Linked DNA regions of Homo sapiens: region 1 is linked to region 2. The links are contacts of gene promoters, found by promoter capture Hi-C in human tissues and cell types (Jung and others, 2019). All regions are on one chromosome and are shown on one strand. Each heading gives the region's core, a stretch centred on a gene start or on the middle of the fragment in contact. The rest is flanking DNA. Distances are from core to core; before and after follow the strand shown. Region 1 overlaps ERO1A (endoplasmic reticulum oxidoreductase 1 alpha). Region 2 holds the start of FERMT2 (FERM domain containing kindlin 2).

Region 1 (7,054 bases), core at 102-2,601, 280 kb after region 2:
ATCAATTTTATTACAGTTAAAAAAACTCAGTTTCTAGAAAAAATGTACCTCTTAAGTTTTGCAGTTCTATGTAGCTTGTGGTTTATATAATTTTGTATATACATTTTGTATAAATAGCTAAAATTTAGGGATTACAAAAATCTGCTTCAGTTACATTGCTGTTGGATTGTTATGTATATTCCTTAATGATGGTCCGTGTTGCTTTTGGAGAAGTGAATATTGAACCGTTAGTCGAGTCTGTGATGTCTGAAGTTAAGCCAGAGTGCTGCTGCTGTTAAAAGCTAGGAGCCCCAGATTCATTAAAACTCTGATCGTGGCACAGTGGTTCATGCCTGTAATCCCAGCTACTCAGGAGGCTGAGGCAGGAGAATCACTTGAACCCAGGAGGCAGAGGTTGCAGTGAGCTGAGATTGTGCCATTGCACTCCAACCTGGTGACAGAGCGAGACTCCGTCTCAAAAAAACAAAAGACCAAAAAAACAACTCTGATCAAGATGTATAGATTTTCCAATTCTTCCTTTTTCTAGTATTTCCTTTTTCTAAGTTGAATTGTTAGCCTCTTAATTCACTAAAAAAAATAAATCAAATTGAGTCTTGGTATTCTTCTGTGGCTCTTTTCTAGTGGACTAACGCTCTTTCAAAAATTAGTGAAAACGGGCCTGGCTTGTTGGCTTATGCCTATAATCCCAGCACTTTGGGAGGCCAAGGAGGGAAGATTGCTGAGCCTAGCCTGGGCAACATGGCAAAACTCTGTCTCTACAAACAATACAAAAATTAGCCAGGCCTGGTGGTGTGTGCCAGTAGTCCCAGCTACTCGGGGAGTGGGAGGATTGCTTGATCCAGGGGGTTGAGGCTGGAGTGAGCTCTGATTGCACCACTGTACTCCAAGCCTAGGACAGAGTGAGACCCTTTCTCAAAACAACACAACAAAAAATTAGTGAAAACAGTGATATAAATTCTTTTAATTATAAGCCAAAGATGCAGCCTACAATCTCCATAAAAGAGAAAGTATTTTTAATTTTGTGGCTTCTTTTTGGGGAAAATTGCTTTCCTTAATGGAAACCGTAGCCATGTTTTGGTATATACTTAGTTATAATTCCTTATTTCCAATTCTAAAATCTGGAAACTCTGAAAACTGAACATTTCTCCCCCTGCGTTTAGCAGAGGCTCATTTAGTGTGAGTATATGTTTCACTGTAGAAATATTTACGTGTTTGAATAAAGATTGCTCCCCCAGGTCCAGCTGGAGTAATATGCGATATATGTTGCATGTACTGTATTACCTTTGTAAAATCTGGAAAGTTCATTCCAGCCGAGACACGCATGGTCCCAGGCATGTTGGATGAGGGGTATAGACCTATATCAAGATTTGGACTAGTGAAGGAAGGGGATAAGATGTTCTCCCAACTCCCTTATTTTGCCATCTTTTCTACAAGGATTTTTTTTTTACCTTAAATATTGTTGTGAGATAAAACTAAATTTATAGTATGCAGCTATAATTTTTTTTAGTCCTCCACTGTTAGAAAAAGGATGGTAATATTTTAACCTTAATTAACATCCTTTTGTGACTACAATGTGCAGCACCAGGTGAGAATCAATGATTCATTTCTTATATGGTAGAGTTTGGTGAATCACTTGCCCATTTGTATTAGTGTCTTCTGTTAAAAAAAGCTGAATATTTTAAAGAAAGCTTTAGCAGGAATAAATAATGGATGTAAATGGTACGTGAAATATAGAAAGTATTTTTAAAATCCTAATTGGAAATTTGAGCTTTTGTCAAAAACAGGTTCTATTCAGTGATAGAAAACAGCATATCATATAGGTTTTGCAGAACGCATGTTTTCTGCTTCTAGGGCTGGATATTGGCATTTTCCTATAAGGGCCAAATGGGCTCTTAAATGTCTTTTCTTAGATTTTACAAAACATGTTTGACTAGTTTTCTATGAAAAACTTCAGGTTCTATTCAGTGATAGGAACCAGCGCATCATAAAAATTCTTGGCACAAATATAATTATAGTAATATTTAATATAATTATAGTATTACTTCAAATATAATTGTATAATTATAATTATAATTATAGTATAATTATAAGATTTGTAATATAATAATATAGTAATATTTATTTTTTATAAGCTTGAAGAAGAATGAAGTATTTATAATAAGTAGAATTATGAGGCAACAAATGTTTATCTCTAGGTAGAATATTTAAAAATTTAATCATTTCTTGGTGGTTAGTTTTCTCAAAGTCCTGGATACTGACCGTTGTTTATGTATTTTATTTTATTTCATTTTTATTTTTATTTTTTTTCCGAGGCAGAGTTTCATTCTCGTTGCCCAGGCTGGAGTGCAATGGTGTGATCTCAGCTCACTGTAACCTCTGTCTCCCGGGTTCAAGCGATTCTCCTGCCTCAGCCTCCCGAGTAGCTGGGATTACAGGCATGCATCACCATGCCCGGCTAATTTTGTATTTTTAGTAGAGATGGGGTTTCTCCATGTTGGTCAGGCTGGTCTCGAACTCCTGACTTCATGTGATCCACCCGCCTCAGCCTCCCAAAGTTCTGGGATTACAGGCGTGAGCCACCATGCCTGGCCTGCTGTTTATATATTTTAAACATCAGGGTTTAAAAAATGAATTTATTATAATTTATATGTGGCACTTGCCTTTAGTATTAATTGAAATGAACAGTTATCCATTCCTGAACTAGATGATTCCATGCTAATTTGTTTTTTAAGTCCTTATATTTTGTTTTTCTAGTTATTTTAATTGCCACTTCTGCATTGAACTCTGCTATTTTAAGATGCCGTCATTGTACTGCTTCTAGAAGCAAATTTCCCCCTAATTTATGCTTCTAATATACTGTGAATTGGAGTAAAAAATAACCAAGCTTAGGGTTTTTTTTTGTTTTTGTGGTTTTTTTTTAATAATAAAAATAGGTATAGTTGAGAGCTTGATGGACTCTAAGCACTTTTGTGCTCATATTTTTGTTATTGACTTTGGTTGCATTGAGACCGTTTTTGTCCACTTTTTAATTCTTTGTTGGCTCATACTGTTAAGCTTTATATATGAATAAAGTATTATTATAGTACCAAATAATTTCCCAAAGCCACTGGAGGACTATGGCCCATCTTTTTTTGAGACACAGTCTCACTGTGTTGCCCAGGCTGGAGTGCCGTGGTGCAATCACGGCTCACTGCAGCCTGGACCTCCTGGGCTCAAGTGACTTTCCCACCTCAGCCTCCTGGGTAGCTGGGACCACAGGCACGTGCCATGATGCCTGGCTAATTTTTGTATTTTTTATTGATGCCTGGTGTTTCACCAGGTTGCCTGTGAATTTTAGAATCACTCCTGGGCTCAAGCAGTCTGCCCCCAGGCCTCCGAGAATGCTGGGATTACAGGCATGAACCATCGTGCCCACCCTGGGACCGACCATCTTTTTTGTTTTGAAGTTATAACACATTATAAATGATAAATAAGTAACAGGGTCTGGATTCTAGCCTGGGTGTTCTGGCTCCAGAGCCCATGCTCTGGCTGTTCTGTGATGTTGGATGTTTAGGTTGCTTCCAATTTTCCCTTTTATAAATAATGTTGACACAGAATCATGCTGCATTGTAACTTTTGCTTTTGGCCAGATTGGATCTGCTGGTGGTCATCTAAGAAGAAAGTATTTGGTAACACGCAGTGTACAATACTAACACTCCTTCATTTACTGTAGTTATTGATGAACTGCTGTGGTTAATGTGGAGGGAAATGTATGTTATATTCTTTGTCTGAATAGCTTATGATAATTGAATTACCATGTTTCTTTGATTCTAAAATTCACGTATTCCTATTTTTACAATTCCTAAATCATAATGTTTTTGTAGCCAGTGTGTACAATTAATGTGGCTGTGTGTGTTTCTCTCTCTTTTCCTTCCTTTCTTTTCTGAGACGGAGTCTCGCTCTGTCACCCAAGCTGGAGCACAGTGGCGCAATCTCGGCTCACTGCAACCTCCGCCTCCCGGGTTCAAGTGATTCTCCTGTTGCAGCCTCTCGAGTAGCTGGGACTACAGGCGTGCACCACCACGCCCGGCTAATTTTTGTATTTTTAGTAGAGACAGGGTTTCACTATGTTGGCCAGGCTGGATTCGAACTCCTGACCTCAAGTGATCCGCCCACCTTGGCCTCCCAAAGTGCTGGGATTACAGGTGTGAGGCACCACACCCGGCCTCCTTCCTTTGTTTCTCCTGAAAAGTTGTTTTAAAATTCCTGACACATTGTTATATTTGTGGTGCGTTAGAATCAATGGAATACAGTCTTGTGTAGTAGCTTTTTAAGGTAACTGAGGATAAGAAAGGTTTAATAAGACATTTTATTTTACAGACATTCAGTCCCCTGAAGCTGAATATGTAGATTTGCTTCTTAATCCTGAGCGCTACACTGGTTACAAGGGACCAGATGCTTGGAAAATATGGAATGTCATCTACGAAGAAAACTGTTTTAAGTATGTGTCATTTTCATTTAGAAAAATTCCTATAAGATGTGGTGATTTCTCTTTATAAACAAAATCATAATGATTTAAAATTAAAAATCAAATTCACTTTGTTAAAAGATGTGTTTGTACAAGGAAACATGACTATTCATTAATCCAGTTTCCTTCTGGGGAAATATATAGACGTGAGTTTCCACAGATTTTTCCTTTAGACCTTTATGGGAGTATTGTAGGCCCTTGACAAATGTTCCTTGAGTCGATTATAGGATCTCATTTTATAGTTAAGGTAACCTAGAGCTGGAGAGGTTTGCTTCATTTCCCAAGATCACACAGTGGCAGTGTAGAGAAAAGAATATACAACTCTTAATTCTCTTTTTGGTGCTCTGTACACCCTTGTCTGTGGCTTTAATTATTTTACAGTTAAATTGATTTCAGAGAACAATTATAATAGGTATCATTTTTGAGCACTCACTGTATTCTAGGCATTGTGGTAAGCATGTTATATACATTTTCTTCTTCAGTCCTTGCAATAACCCTGTGTTGCAGTCATCACTGTATTATAGACAGAGAAACTGAGACTTAGAGAGGTTAAATGATTTGTTCAGTGTCAAAGATCTAGTAAGTGAAAGAGCCCGCTTTGTACGGGGTAACCATTAGGCTGGAGGCAGTTGCTGATCACTGGGTATCTGAGAAATGCTTCAGGTTACTCACACGTAAGTCTTGAGGTGCTAAACTTTGTACTCACTGGTTTTGGGATCAATGTATGTGCGAGCACATTATGCTGTCTTAGAGATGGAGAGAGTTCTGGGAAAGTCTTTGGAGTTCCCAAATATGGGGATAATATTATATATTTCACTTTTTATAAGTCAAATATAAGTATGAGATCAGTAATTGTGCTTACACCAATAAAATGTCAGACTGTGGTGTTTTTTTTTTTGACTTGAAGAATTTCTCCAGTTTGGAAAGTAGAGAGTTTTTATTAATTACTTATTTCTGCCATGTATTTTATTTAAATTATCTTGACTATTATTAGAAATGTTTGATTTACTGACTTAAAGATTTACTTTAAAGGTTTTTTTTTTTTTTTTTTGAGATGAAGTCTCACTCTGTTGCCCAGGCTGCAGTGACGTCATCTCTGCTTACCGCAACCTCTGCCTCCCAGGTTCAAGCGATTCTCCTGCCTCAGCCTCCTGAGTAGCTGGGACTACAGGCACACGCCACCACACCCGGCTCATTTTTGTATTTTTAGTGGAGACGGGGTTTCACCATGTTGTCCAGGCTGTTCTTGAACTCCTGACCTCAGGTGATCCACCCACCTCGGCCTCCCAAAGTGCTGGGATTACAGGGGTGAGCCACCATGCCCAAAGTGCTGGGATTACAGGCATGAGCCACCACGCCCGGCCCTGTTGTTGTTATTTTTAGTGTGAATTAAGAATGGGAGGCCAAGGCGGGCGGATCACGAGGTCAGGAGATCGAGACCATCCTCACTAACGCGGTGAAACCCCGTCTCTACTAAAAATACAAAAAATTAGCCGGGCGTAGTGGTGGGCACCTGTAGTCCCAGCTACTCGAGAGGCTGAGGCAGGAGAATGGCGTGAACCCGGGAGGCGGAGCTTGCAGTGAGCCCAGATTGCACCACTGCACTCCAGCCTGGGTGACAGAGTGAGACTCCGTCTCAAAAAAAAAGAATGACTCTGTCTCAAAGAAAAATAATAAAAGAATCCATGAAGCATTTGTTAGATTTGTATTACTTTTGTAGTCATTTTCTTACTAATTTGTGTCCTGATTCCCATAATTTCTAACAATATAAACAATGTATAAAGGGCTAAGTTAATTATATTGTGTATTTTAAAATACAGCTTACATATTCTGTTCTCAAAATGTCTCCAGTTTTGCAAATTTTTAAAATAGATGTTAAAACAATCCCTATAGTTTACTATTAATACTAACGCGTATTTATTTTGGGATTTAAAAGCACTTTAATGACATAGTAACTCTCCAGAAAATTTCTGTTTTTTCCTACTGAACAAACAACTTTTATTTAAATTGTAACAAACTTAGCTACAGGGCAAATTGATGTGTCTAAAGATTACCTAAGTGGAAAATAATCTACACTATTTTTTTTCCATTTTTAAATTTTAATGCTTATATTGAATATTTTTTGCTTATTTGTCTTTCATTTAGGGGTACACTTTGTGCCATACACACACACATATACATAGATATGTATATATAATATATATAAAAACATAGTAGTGACTCCGAGAGAAGAGCTTGGCTGATATTTTCTCTTCTTTTGTTTGAAGAAGTGATTAGGAAATGGCCTGCTGGCCGCCACAATGGGAGAAGATCAGGAACTATTATCACTACAACAAATAGCCACCCTCCCTTAAAGCAATTAGAGGAAACTAAGTGTTTTATAATCTCAATAAAACAATTTGATTTTGGATATTAAGCAGTTTTCTGAGATAATATCACTTAAATATAACATGATTGGTAACATATTTGTGTTGATATTTTTAATTCTTTTTACTTCTAGGCCACAGACAATTAAAAGACCTTTAAATCCTTTGGCTTCTGGTCAAG
Region 2 (7,069 bases), core at 3,061-5,560:
TTTCTTTCCCCTTAAAGATTTCACTGTTATCTCGGAGCCCTTCTTTGGTCTGTGAAAACAGCCATATTCCTAGCAAATCTTGTTTCTCAGTTTGCCAGTCCTTTTCTTGCTAATTACAGTGACTGCCCATTTCTGTCAAAAAAGTGGCTTTTGCAACCTCCCTTCCCATTTAGATCACATTCCACACCCCTGGATTTCTACCTCTTTAGTAGCGTTATTGGTGTGTGCCATTTTTGGCAATCCCCAAGACAAAGAAAGAATTCTACCCACCTGGTATTTGACAAGAATAATTCATTACATTTCATCTTGCTGGCCTCATGTCGCATTTTCAAGTCCCCCCTTACACATTTCACACCCACACAAATCCTCTCTTATTTTCTCCTACCCCCATCCTCTCTCCTTCTTTCAAACCCAGGGGTTATATTTTGAATTGACCTTCTAGAAATATAAAGCACAGTGCAAGTAGGCACAGAAAAAAAGCTAAAGTCAACCTGAGCATTACCAAGCCCGAGGGCTGCATTTGACGGCAGATCTGTGAGGCACTGCTTGGTCTAAATCTAAGTCCAGTGCTTGGTACCTTATTTGGATATTGCTGCTTTCATTGCTTGAGCTGTTCTTCCAAACACTGGCGTACTCAGCTACTTTTCAGTATGATGTAAGTACCACAAGCATTGCATTGTCCTAGTGGTTCTAGCAGGGGATTTCAGATAAGAGTCTACATTTGAATACATTCTAAATCTTAGGTAGAAGTGAATATTTAAGAAATGCACTTGAAAGCGTCACTTGATAAACTGGAAAAAAAAAATCCCAGTTTCAGAGAGGTGAGGCTGACTCCTCTTTAATCTTCAAAGCAAGTGACAGCTTGAAATAGTCAAAAAGAAGGCCTGAAGGGATCAGCTGCACCCAACCTAATCTAATTATTCTTCCACTGGTACTTAACTGAAGGTCCTTGCCTTCCTGTGCATTAATTGCTCAAATATATACTGCTGACTTTCTAAAGCCAGTAAAGTGTCTTATGAAGCTATACTCAAGCGATTTCAAATGTTAAGAAATAGGGCAGTTATTCACAATATTAAAATTCCCCACCCCCACTCTCTGTCACTAAATGTAGAGAACATTCGTAGAAGTGGATTCAGGAAAGCACGGTAGTTAGAGCAGTCGGTGCTGTCGTGGGGGTGTTCAGAAAGTAACTCTTACTGGAAAGTGGGAAAATAACTAGAATTTGGAAACCGAGTACAGATGCTCTGCAACTTATGATGAGGTTACATTCTGTAAATTGAAAATATTGTAAGTCAAACATGCATTTCATATACCTAACCTACCGACGAACATCACAGCTTAACCTAGCCTATCTTAAATGTATCCAGAACATTTACATTAGCCTCCAGTTGGGCAAAATGATCCAATATGAAGCCCATGTTATAGTAAAGTGTTGACTATCTCATGTAATTTATTGAATACTGTACTGAATGTGAAAAACAGAAAGGTCCTAGGGGTATTCAAAGTACGGTTTCTACTGAATGCCTATCGCTTTCACACCGTCATAAACAAAAAATCATAAGTCAGGGACCATCTGTATTAAAAGAGTTTCTAAACCATGACAGTTGGCTTCAACAATTTTGTCTGAAGGAAAGGGAATATTCAGAAAGGGCATAGATATTTTAGGTTCTAGAAAGGCATGTTTAGAAAGCCATAATTTTTTTGTAGCTTACTGGAGCATGTGCAAATGTCATAAGATACAATTCTTAGCTTCATTCCCAGCTCCATTTTAAATCTCTACTCCAAAATAAATAAATAAATCTCTACTCCACCCCTCTAAGCCTCCCAATCCCCACCCACCTTTTTTTTCTTGTTTTGTGCCACTTATAATGTATACTATCTCACAGTTTATGCATCCTTATACGTTGCCATAAATCTTTTGGGGGATAAAGTGGGGGAAATAAATAAGTATATTTTTAAAGTGGGGATTTTCCCATTGAGATTTGTTTTTTGTTTTTCTGCGATCAATCCAGGCTGGAGGGCAGTGGTGTGAATACAGCTCACTGCAGCCTCCACCTCCTGGGCTCAAGTGATCCTCCTGCCTCAGCCTCCCAAAGTGCTGGGATTATAGGCATGAGCCACTGTACCTGGCCCCTGAGATTTCTCCATGGAACAGACCCACTGTTTCTTTGACATTTGTGTTGGTTTGACACCAGCATGTTTTCCATTTTCTCTGTACCAAGCTATTGTGAATTTGTGGACAATGAAAATAATTTGAAATCTCTGCTCTTAAAGAACTCAAGTTTTCTTTAGAACTATTTAAAAAACACCAAAGGAAACCTCTGAAAATCCTGTCCATCGTTCAGTCAGTAGCTGCTGTATCCAGTGTCTATCATCGTGAATGTCATGGCATGTACAGAGAAACTGAAATGCTGGATGCAATTCTAGGTGGTGGTGTAAAGTTTTTGAGTTGGCAGAAAATAAAGAATAAAAGAAAGAAAAAACTTCCGTGATCTCAAGACCCAGAGAGCTTCTTAACATTTTGCTGTATTTCCTTACAGTCTTTTTCTCTGAACATTTAACGTAAATAAGCTCTTAATTTTATAGCTGCATATCCAGTTCTGCAGTTTTGTGCCCTAACAAGCAATTCCTTAATTTATTAAAAACATTTTCCTGTATATTTTCAACCCCATAATTTACATAAACTCCCTCATCTCCGGACATTCATATTGCTTTCAAGTGAACTATTTGGAACGTCCACGAGTAGAAATATTGGAGAGTAGACAGATAAGAGACTGAAGGCATCAATTTCTCCATGATAACTAGCTAAAAACACTGTAGTGGTTTTCCCTATTTTTTTTTCTGCCAAGCCTTTGGCATCTGACTAAATTTTGCTGCTTTCACTCCTTTCTGAGTTCCACCCCTTTCTTGAGGCCTCTCATCTTGTTTCCCAGTAATGTTAATGAACAAAAGGTTATCTGCCTAGCGAGTTCCTTTTCCAAGCGTTTGAGACAATTCGACAAGATTATGAGACTGCGAACTGGAGTCTTTTATCTTTAAAAGGTATTTTAATCTGAGCCTTCTTGACGTTTATTTTCTGAGCCCATGAATTTGCTAGCGAGGCAGTTTCTCTGGTTTGCTGTTTCTGAAAGGAGTTCCCTCAACAGAGTACAACAGTTAATGGGGGAAGTGGAAACAAAAGCGGGAAGCAGGAGGACCGTTCCCCATCACTAGCCAGTCTTCAACAGGTGAAGTTGTTTAGCTCTTCCTGGTACCTGCAGGCACCGTTCCAGAAGTATTAAAATCCAAGGTGTGGCTGAGGGTGGGATGGAACATGTATCTCCATCTAACAGCTTTAATAGACTGTTAGTTCTAACTTGCATATAAAAACACACAAATAAGTACAAAGAGCTGGAGAAGCTGGGGAAACAGTTTCTGAGTAAAACCTGTGGCACTAGGTTGTGTCTTTCCTTTCCCCTCAGGCAAGAGCATCATCTGTTTGACTGGCATCTGGCTGGAGCGTCCGAAGGGGTTAAGAACGCTTGCAAACTCCTGGGAGTCCAGTAGGAGTTGCTGATGGTGCCGGACATTGCTTGCAAAGCAATTTTTGTGGTTCACCTCCCTCGGGGTTTTCTTATTCTTTTGTAGGACATTCAAGGAGTTGGTTTGGGCATTTACTTTTTAAAGTTTCTCCGTCCCAGACTCCTCTCTCCAGCTCCCGGGGTGCGGCACCTCTCACCTCCCTGAGGCTTTTTGTCTCGCTGCAGGCGTGGGGAGGGGGCGAGAGGACTTTGTTCTCCGAAAACGACCTTGCCCTGGGAATTTCCTGGGGCCGTTTCTCACGGACAAGCCCCCTCTCCCTGCTGCCAGCGCGGACACACGCCGCGGGGGCCCCAGTCCAGCCTGAGCTCTAGACGCCCCGCCGGCCACCAGCGCCCCGGGAAAGGCCGCCCGCGCTCCCCCGCTCCCCCTCCTCAGGGCCCGCCGCCTAGAGCCCGGATGTTGGATTCAATTCCTGAGCCGGGTCCTTCATTTCCATAAAAGGGCAGCGCTCCGCGGGGCCGAGATTGCCGCCCCGCCGCGCCCCCCGCCACCCCCGCGCCGCCCCGCCCCACGCCGCCCCGCCCCGCCCGGGACCCGCAGCCCCCTCCCCCGAGCGCGGCGCCGGGAGGGCGGGGGCAGAGGCGAGGCCGGCCGGACCCGCTCAGGGCAGCTCTGCGGGCGGCGAAGGAGGGAGCCAGCGCGCCCAGCCCAGCCAGGCTCGGACAGAGGGGGCGGGGAGAGGGTGGAGCGCGGGGAGCCAGGCGAGGGGCCGCGACGACGGGACTCCATTAGCCGCTCCGGCCACAGGCAGCGCTTCGCCAGCCGAGGAACCGGACGCGGACACCGCCGCCCCGCGAGCCTCCAGCCCCTCGCCTGTTGCCGCGCGAGTCCCGGGCCCGGAGCGCTAGGAGCGCGCGGTGAGGGAGCGGGACCCCGCCGGGACCCGAGGGGGCGCGGCGGGGAGGGGAACGGGGAGTCAGCCCGCGCTGTGTCTCGGGGCCGGCCGGCAGGTGAAGCCCTCCGCGGTCCGCTAGGCGGGGACGGTGTGGGGCGGGCGGCGCCGGGACCGAGGAACGCTGCGGGGCGAGCGGGGCGTAGGGTCCTCCCGCAGCCCCGGCCGCCGCCGCCCTCCCGAGTTTCTGCCGAAAGCCCCGGGTCCTCCACCACCTCCCAGCCCGTGGCCGGCGCTGCGAATTCGGTGGGATTCGCCTTTCTTTGGGGGAGTGACGCTTACGAGAGCCATTTCCTCCGCGCTCGCAGGAAGGAGCCATGGCTCTGGACGGGATAAGGATGCCAGATGGCTGCTACGCGGACGGGACGTGGGAACTGAGTGTCCATGTGACGGACCTGAACCGCGATGTCACCCTGAGAGTGACCGGCGAGGTGCACATTGGAGGCGTGATGCTTAAGCTGGTGGAGAAACTCGGTGAGTAGCATCCCAGCCGCGTCCAACTAATGACTTCCCAGAATTGGTAGGGGGAGGAAAGAGGCTCACGACGGGGGAGGGGCCCATTTGAGAAATCTTGGCATCTCGCAAATGCTTTTTGGAGATGTAAAATCTTTCAGTATTTAAGCAGATAGACCTGTTCCCCTTTGCGTCTTATTTTGTTTTGCTATTCTCTGAATTTTCATATGTAATGATTCGAGCCTCCCAATTATAACCTTAATTGCGTAGTTACGCGGGACGGGGGATGTGTGCCGGGGAACTCGTTAATTCTTAACATTTACTGACAGAACGATAAAAGAATGAGGAAAGTGTGTTGGGAGGGTGATATTACAGTGTCCGTGGTTATCTATGTCTTCAGCATACCTGAATGTTAGTGACGTTTGGTATAGAGAATGATGCAAAATCCATTTAAGAAAAATCTGTGCTGGAAAATGTGCAACTACTGGCGCCAGTGTGAAGTTTCTGTGGCTGTTCTACGTGGTGGAGTGCATTAAAATGTTCCAGTCATCCACTCTTACTAGGGGTGGGGCAGTGCTTGACAAACTTGGTATCCATAGTCCATGCTCGATGTAAGCCGTTTCGAGCGTTCGGTTTTATATTAATAACAAGCCAAGGAAAGAACTTTGTGTTAAAAAGCAGACTTTGTTAAACTAATTTGAGGTTGACGGTGTTTGCTTGAGTACAAATATGTATTGGATTGATATCCGATTTAAAATAATAAGGTATCTTACAGTATGAAGTGTGTGAAGAGTGTGCAGTACACATTTTTGTGATGAATGAAACCATTTTCATCTGGAAGAGTCAGCTAAATAGATGATTTGATCATAAGAGAAATGCTCAGAGAACTATCTTCCTGAGCTTTAAAGAGCCTTTTGTACATAATACAGTTGTGATAAGATGATTATCTGTGTGGCATTGTCTTTTTAGGCTGGAATTGTTTTTTGTTTTGGTGAAGGGGGGTTGGGGACTTTCTGGGGGTTTTTTTCGTCTTTTTTTTTTTCTTTTTTTTTTTAAACACAGCATTCGTTTTCAAGCTACACTGGGAAAGTAGAGAAGTGCTTATTTGTCAGGAAATCTATTTCTTACCAAAGGATTATTGTATGTAAAGGTACTGAAATAGCACTCTGATGCATTTTGCAAAATAAGGCAGGATTCATTTGGGTGGACCTGCTTTGTACCCCTGCAGGAAGTTTTATTATTGAAGGACCAAAGTGAAGCTCCTTACAAGGTAGCCTCTTCCTTAAGACTGCATTGTTTGGCTCCCTGAGATACAGCTCAGGAAAGAAAATCCTCCTAGGTAGCCCAGTGAAAATTAGATTTTGCTGTATTGATTAACCATTTAACTGGCAGTTAACAGTATTTTTATCTGATTTGAATAAATCAGTCACTGTTTGCAAAATATGTATGAACCTTTTTTGTCCAGCTCTGGTATGAGATTATTTAAGAAGGAAAATAGCAAATATTTGGATATTTTGTTTTCAAAGAAAACAAGCATTTTTGTTAGAGCTTTTCTAATTTATGGTAAATGGACCATATTAATACATTGGTCTCAATAGGAGATATTTTTTATATTGCAAAAAAAGGAGCTGTTGAAGGTGACTGAGACAACTTGTAGTTCTCGAAAGCCAGGCTGTAGCTAATGAATAAATAATGGTTTCTATATTTATTTTGCATTGCTTAGGACTGTTTATTATAGAATCACAGTAATAAATAGAAATATAGAGAATAAACTGCAGACAGAAATGATGTTAATTTAAATGACTATAATCTTAATCTTTTAATGCTGATACATTTTTAATTTTTTATGCAGAGAAAAGAAGCCCAACAAGGTAGGAAATGCTGTGCGTATGGAAACCTTACATCTTTTCTGAACTGAATTCATACTGATTCCTCTTATATTTTGAATTCCAAATAGAAAGTGCCTCTGACTTTCCTGTTTGGTAAAAGTAGAGCTAAGTGATGCTTTTGGTTTTTAGGATTAGATGCTTTGAATGGTAAGCTATTTCGTTGCCTATCAGCAAGTAAATAGAGGAGAGATTCGGTAGGGCAGCATTTAAAACATCCACAAATCAGGCTAGTCAAATTAGAAAAGAACTTTGT

Evidence for each region. Contacts are between HindIII fragments. The study calls those that stand out against the background at their distance.
Region 1: a contact is called between a fragment that was not itself captured here and the fragment with the promoter of FERMT2 in region 2, in 1 of the 25 tissues and cell types used here (ovary).

The regions. Positions count from the first base shown.
Region 1 is chr14:52,663,801-52,670,854 of GRCh38, reverse strand. ERO1A (endoplasmic reticulum oxidoreductase 1 alpha) reads left to right here. Exons shown (of 16, transcript NM_014584.3): 7 at 4,360-4,480; 8 at 7,008-7,054. Among named protein-coding and RNA genes, the nearest start is that of ERO1A, 28 kb to the left of the region's middle. RefSeq lists an enhancer at 6,646-7,054. The HindIII fragment of the contact is 3,237 bases long and covers 1-2,969 here.
Region 2 is chr14:52,948,291-52,955,359 of GRCh38, reverse strand. It overlaps FERMT2 (FERM domain containing kindlin 2), which reads left to right and starts at 4,310. Exons shown (of 15, transcript NM_006832.3): 1 at 4,310-4,439; 2 at 4,783-4,948. The coding sequence starts at 4,792. RefSeq lists an enhancer at 3,033-3,611 and a silencer at 4,332-4,541. The HindIII fragment of the contact is 21,614 bases long and covers 1-7,069 here.